Linked DNA regions of Homo sapiens: region 1 is linked to region 2. Evidence: promoter capture Hi-C in 16 types of primary human blood cells and fetal thymus (Javierre and others, 2016). All regions are on one chromosome and are shown on one strand. Each heading gives the region's core, a stretch centred on a gene start or on the middle of the fragment in contact. The rest is flanking DNA. Distances are from core to core; before and after follow the strand shown. Region 1 overlaps LOC101927182 (a long non-coding RNA gene). Region 2 holds the start of PTPRT-AS1 (PTPRT antisense RNA 1).

The links. Contacts are between HindIII fragments. The CHiCAGO score rates a contact against its expected background, and 5 or more counts as called.
Region 1: a fragment that was not itself captured here is called in contact with the fragment with the promoter of PTPRT-AS1 in region 2 in 1 of 17 cell types (M2 macrophages); the score reaches 6.1 in M2 macrophages.

The regions. Positions count from the first base shown.
Region 1 is chr20:41,947,542-41,951,123 of GRCh38, forward strand. The region is part of intron 1 of LOC101927182 (a long non-coding RNA gene); the gene reads left to right. Among named protein-coding and RNA genes, the nearest start is that of CHD6, 330 kb to the left of the region's middle. The HindIII fragment of the contact is 679 bases long and covers 1,337-2,015 here.
Region 2 is chr20:42,967,348-42,970,776 of GRCh38, forward strand. PTPRT-AS1 (PTPRT antisense RNA 1) reads left to right here and starts at 1,396. Exons shown (of 2, transcript NR_149017.1): 1 at 1,396-2,314. The region is part of intron 1 of PTPRT (protein tyrosine phosphatase receptor type T); the gene reads right to left. The HindIII fragment of the contact is 3,440 bases long and covers 1-2,288 here.

The DNA.
Region 1 (3,582 bases), core at 426-2,925, 1.0 Mb before region 2:
AAACATAGGTTTATTATATGACCCCACAATTTCAGTCCCAGATGTGTACTCAAAAGAATTGAAAACAGGTATCATACAAGTACTTGTACACAAATGTTAATAGCAGGACTATTTGCAATACCAAGAGGTGGAAAGAGCCTTAATGTCCATCAAGAGATGAACAAATAAACAAATTGTAGCATATCCATACAATGGAATATTACTCAGCCATAATAGGAATAAAAAAATGATACATATTACAGTGTGGATGAACCTCCAAAACATTACTCTAAGGTCAAAGAAACCAGACACAAAGATCATGTATTGTATGATTCCATTTTTACGAAATACCCAGAATAGACAAGTCCATAGAGACACAAAGCAATTGGTGATTTCTAGGGACAGAAGGGGAATGTGGAAATGGAGAGTGACTGCTCAGTGGGTATGGGATTTGATTTTGGAGTGACAGAAATGTTTTGGAACTAGATAGAGGTGGTGGTTGCACAACATTGTAAATGTACTAAATGCCACTAAATTGTTCACTTTAAAATGGCTAATTTTATGTTATGTGAATTTTACCTCAATAAATTATTAAAACCAACCAACAAACCAACCAACAAACAAACAGAAAATGCAGTCTGTTAGATGCCATCAGTCATAAAAGGGAACCTCATTGACTGGAAATGTCTTACCCCTGTGCTCTCCACTGGAAGAGGAGTAGCAATATGACCCAACAAAGAACCAGAAAAATCGGCAGCCCAGCAGGGGTAACTTTGCGCCAGAAAACTAGTGCCCACATGCCATACCTCTAGCTTGCTGTTTTCTGCTATAAAGTTATTATGTGTTTACCTTTGGGAAAAAGTAATGCTCATGTGTCCTGTGTCTTTGCTCATGGTAAATGTCTCAAATCTTTATCAGTCTGAGAAGTGAATAAAGGCCATTTTTATTTGCATTTCTTTCATTACTGTGGAGGGTGAAGATCTTTTCATGAAGGGTGAAGATCAAACACACAATGCCATGTGCATTGTGTGTTTGAATTGCCTGTTGATTTTATTCTTATAGATTTAATTTTAGATACGGAGTTTACCTCCAGGAATCCCCTGTCTCTTCCCACTCCCACAGAGTGCCATGTGCCTGGGTTGTGGAAGCTTCTTTCAAAAAAGTTTTTGTGTTTACTGGGGCCCTCGGGACTTCACCAACCTGGGATGACCTCCTATAATAATTTATTAGTGTTGAAATCTCTCATCACACAAATATATAAGCCTCGACTCTACACTCTACACTGCATGGTATAGGCTTTGGGCTTCGACTTCTTAGGGAAACTTTCTGCTTTCAGCCACGTCCCTGTGCAGGTGCAAGCTTCTTTGCAGTTTCCAGAACAGTGGGCAGAGTTGTTCTAGCCCTTTCCATGGAGGGGATTTTTTTAGGGTCCTGATTTTACAGCGGTCTCAGTTCCATTACTTTGCTAACTGGGACCTAAGGCCACATGTCCTATCCCAAAGTTGGCATTAAAATCCCAGTCCCTAACCATTGGGGCCATGCACCCACCTCCTGGGGGGGAGATGTCATGGTTCAAACACTTTCCATTCTGGCTTTGAGTTTTCTTTTCATTTATTTTCACTCTAGAGATTTTCCTGTCTTTCGAGTGAACCTATATATTTTAAATATTAATTATTTTAATTCCCACACTCTTGTGGGTTTTCGGTGGTAGACAGGGACCTCTGTCACGGATCAGTCTACCAATGTTGCTAAAAGTCTAATTTACAAAAATTGTTTTTGTAGTGAGACTATTAACCCTTTATAATATATATTACCAATACTTTTTGCCAGGTTTTAATTTTTTTTTTGGCTTTATACATGGTGTTCATTGTCATGAAGAGGTTTTAAATTTTTATGTAGCTATGTTTCTCTACTTTTCCATGCATTGTCTCTGGTATTATGTTTAGAAGACATCTTCTTTCCTAAGAGTTAAAAAAAAAAGCATTTAGTCTTGTTTTCTTCTAGTGCTTTTATTTATTTATTTATTTTTAACATTAAGCTTTCTGATCTATTTGGAGTTGGTTTTGCTGTGCTGTGGAGGCAGGGACTCAGCATTAATCTCCCTCACTTTCTGGCTAGTTGTCATGACACTATTTATTGAGAAGCCCATTGTTTTCCTATTTTCATGTGTACTTAGGTTTGTTTCTGAACTCTAATCTTTCACTACATCAGCAATGGACTGTTTTAATTACAACACGTTGACATTCTAGTATATCCAATTTCTCCTCTTCCCTGCCTCTTTGTCTTGCCCCCACCCCCGCTTATTTTTTTAAAAGAAAAAATTTGGTCTATTCTTATGTATCTCCCCTCAATCAAATCCAAAATCATTTAAATCAAAATCCATGTCAATATCATTGAGGTTTCTTACTTTAACAAATGTATAGATTGATAGAGACAATCCCTCTTGTTTTCTGATAATTTATTGTTTGCTCATAGGAAATCTGTTGGGTTTGGCAAAAATGGGGATATGGACCCTAGTGAGGAGGCACAGACATTCTGAGCATGGCATTACTTTAAGACAAGCTTCAGTTGCAAAGAGTGACGTTGGATCCCTGCTTTCAAGCTTCCTTCAAACCCATCCTTTTACCCAGGCCTAGCCCCTGACTGGTCTCTTCCTGTGACTGAACCAATGATTTTACCACTGTCTACCAAATCAGCCAAACCAGGCATCTGGGTGGTGGGGGACAGCATTCATGCCTCTCTTTCCTGATTGTTCATGGATCCCTGTGGATTCAACCTCCTGAGCAGCTCTCCAGTTGTCCTTTCCTCTCCATGCCCACTGCCTCTGCTGTGATTCTGGTCTCAGCCTTCTTTGTATGGGATTTACCGCAGCCTCCTCACTGGACTTCCTGCCTGCAGCCCACCTTCCAGGAGGACACAGAATTATGCATGTTCTGAAGCATAAATATATGTTCTTTCCCAGCTTAAATCCTTTCCATGGCCCCTTCATGAAGCTGACAGTGTAGTAGGTGGAGACATTTATTTATCCTTTCAATGAATATTTATTAAGCAGTTACTTACGATAGGACCTAATCTAGGCCCTGGGGATATTGCTGTGTATAAAGATACAGGAATCTCTGCCCAAGGCCGGATGTTGGGTGGGAGAAGACAGAAAATAAACAAGAGAAATAATATTTAAAGTAGCTTGGTTGGGAATAGATACCAAGAAGAAAATATGTCAGGGAAAGGGGCTAAGGAATTCCAGAGGTAGAGAGGGTAGGGGCTTTTTAAATGGGGTAGCCAGAAAAGGTCTACCTCAGAGGTAATGTTGGAATATAACTGAAAGGTAAGGGGAAAGTCACGGATAGCGGTGTTCTTGTTCAGGGCCTTGTGGACCACTGTGAAGGCCAGCTTTACTGGAGTGACCGGGGAAGCCAGCAGAGAGTCTGAGCCAAAGGAGGACCTAATTTGACTTCATGATCTCGCTTAGGTTTTAACAGGAACACTATGATGGAGCATAGAATATAGATGAGTATACAAGTGACTGAATACTTGCAAATGTGACAAGAGCTAGGAAGGAGAGTTCAGGGTGCTTTGGGAGTGCAGAACAGGAGACCCTGATTC
Region 2 (3,429 bases), core at 146-2,645:
GCCCTAAATCCAGTAACGAGTGTCCTTATAAAAAACAGAAGAGGAAAAGACACAGACACGTGGAAAAGAAGGCCAGACCAGGTGGAGATCAAGGCAGAGAGGGCAATGATGCGGCCACAAAGAACGCTGACAGCCACCAGAAGTTGGAAGAGACAAGGAACTGATTGTCCCCTAGAGCCTCCAAGGAAGTGCAGCCCTGCTGACACCTTGATTTCAGACTGTGGACCCCAGAACTGTGAGAGAACAAATTTGTGTTGTTTTAAGCCACCAAATGGATGGTAATTTGTTACTACAGCCCTACGAACCGAAAACAGTGACCAACCCCATTCACCAGCCCCCTAATACCTTTGTGGCATTTGTATTCCCCCACCCCCACATGCTGCCTCCTTCCCTCCTAGGCTGTTATTCAAACCATCGCAGCAGCCTCCTCATTGCCCTCGCTGCCTTCAGCCTCGCCCTCTCCAAGCCCACCCCCGCTACCAGATGTCAGGAAGAAATTCCAAAACTCAAACCAAAGGCTGATACGTTCTTGCCCTACACTTCACTCAATGCTGGCAACCCAATGAGGGACATCAGGATAAAATCGAGAATGCGCGGTCTGTGCTTGTGAATTCCTACCACCTGGCCCCAGCTAGCCTCCCATCCCTTATATCTGCCAAGACAAATTCCCCCAAATCCCCTCTCCCCTGGCCAGAAGTGACCTCCACATTCAGCCCCGATTATGGAAGGCTGTCACAGGCTATTCCTTTTGCTGGGTAAGCCCTTCCCCCTTTCAAGTCTATGTTCAACTGTCATATCCTTTTTGAGGACTTCCTTTAGCTCTTCCCTCCACCTCTACTGCCACACTTAACAGAGCGGAGTTGTCTCCTCTGGCATCCCATTGTCGATAGCCCACTCCTGAGTTACAGCAACAACGGCCACCTGACTCCACTCATCTGTTGACCTGTCCATTTCTCCATTAGCCTATGATCTCCTTTAGGGCAAGATTCATCCTTATCTGATTCATCTTTGTATCCCAGATCTTAGCCAGGCAAACAACAGGGATCCAGTGGAGAGAGAGATGGATAGGTGGGTAGGTGAAGACACAGATGTACGGTTGAACACACAAACTGGCAAAGTTCCAAATGAACTAATAAGTGGACACCTCACTGAGAGACTTAAATGCAGAAGGGTGCCAGGACATAAGAGGAACGGCTGCGAGTTATGAAAATGGGCTCCATGGGGCAAATCAAAAGTCCACTGAAGGCAAATGCATCATAACAAGACTGGCATTTCCTGGAGTTTCCGGGCTGATCAATCACTTTCATATGCATCATTCATTTACTCCTCACAATGACCTGGTGAGGTAATGAGTTACTATTAGCTCAATGCACAAGGAAGCTGAGGCTTGTGGACATCAGCTGAAGTCTCACAGCCAGCGAATGGCAGGCCAGGGCACCAGGGCCTAGGTCTGCCTGCCTCTTCCATCCACCTTCTGTCATCACAAGCCTTCTGATCTCCAGCCCTCTGATCTGCCCCAGTGGGACCCTCCTGCGTCTCTGCTCTAGTTGTAGAGGACCCATCAGGCACTTAGAGAGAAATGAGTGGTGTTGTGAACATTCGACTGTGTCCATGTGGAATCCACACACACAGTTTGCCTGAAAATGACTGATAGGATGGAAACTGACAAGTCATCATCCGCTTCGGGCACCAGCGATGACTGGTTAACATGAATATTGTGTTGATTTCCGCTAGATAGAAGAAGATGTCACTTGTCGTTAATGGGGTGTCACACGTACACTTGCCTAAAGGAAAATGCTCTTTTGGTGATTGTTCTCAATTTTCACCTCATTTTATAGCCATAAAAAAGAAAAGATTCAGCAGAAAGGATGAATCCACCTAGGGGTAGGATGGAAAGGCATTCTTCTCATTTATTTCCTTCTTTCTTTACCAGAACAACCAAAACCCAGTGAAAATGCTGGTGCAAGTCAGAAGAGGGGGACCTGGGTTCTAAGAGCAGCCAGGTACTCTGGGCTTCAGATCAGAGCCTCAGAATCCAGCAGTTATGCCCACAAGGTAGCCAAAGTCCAGCCAGTACCACCGGTCTCTCGGCCAGCTATACTTGCCTCTGCTCAACAATGATGATTTGAACGTACATGTACAAATAATAACAGATAACATTACTGAGCACTTTACTATGAACTATGGAATGTGCTAGGTAAAGACGTTACTCCACGTAAGCCATAAAATCAACCTATGGGGCAGGTGCAGATCCACAAACCCTGATTTAAGAATTCTGAATCCTCAAAAGCTTTGAAAACCAAAACATTTTTTCGTAAGTTTGGTACAGACTTATTTGGTGCTAAGATTTGAGTTAAAGTGATATACATTGACTAATAGTTTTTTCTATCTCCTTCTTACTATTAATATTCATACTTTTTGCTACAAAAATATCAACATGCTTGATTTAAGGGTGCTACCACAGCCTCTGCTGAGGGATGTTATTAATAAATATGGTACATTTACTATATTGCTTTCCTTTAAAAGTTAAATAAATCTAAATCCGAGCACATTTGGCCCCAAGGACTGCAGACAAGAAATTGAGAACCTGTTAAACCCATTATATGGATGAGGAAACAGGCTCAGAAAAGGTAGGAAACTTTCCTGAGGTTACAGAGCTCAAAAGCAGCAGATGAAGGTTTACATCTAGGCAGCCTTGCTCCAGAGCTGGCCCGGTTAATCAGTGGGCTTTGCTACCTTTGACAAATGCCCCTGCTAGCTGGTCTCAGCCCCATCCTCCCAGCGCAGCAGTTCAGTCCCTGTTTGTTCTTGAGCAAGAAGTAAGCATGTGCCTTCTTAGTCGAGGTACAAGGCAATCCCCAGGGTATCCGGATCATAATTACAATGCTTTATTAATATAAATCTCAGGATATAGACCTGTGTTTCAAATCAAGAGTCAAACACAACAATAACATCAGTCTTAGGTAACTACCAGTCAAGGATTCGGATCCAGACTTGCGCTTTTACAATGAGAAGCAAACAAAGACGACTATTAATTGGCTGATGGTCAGCCAGTATCAAATTATCACATTTTCTCACACTACAGTGGTTATACAGACCCTGGAGCTAGACAGGTTGTGCTGAAATCCTGGGTCAGCCACTTAATAGTTATGCGACCTTGACAAGTTGCATAACCTCTCTGTGCCTCAGTTCCCTTATATAGAACATGGGGGTAATGCTAGCACCCCCCTCACCAGTCGTCATGAGGATTAAATGAGATTGTATTTAAAGCATTTGGAATATAGCAAGTCCAATCTTAGCCTCTGCTCCCAGACAGACAGATGATTAGGATGGATAAATAGATGCTTTGCTTCACATTTTAACTTCTCTGAAATTGGGGCTCTTCTTACCATTGATGTGTACTTATAATGTTTATATTGTTATTCTCAG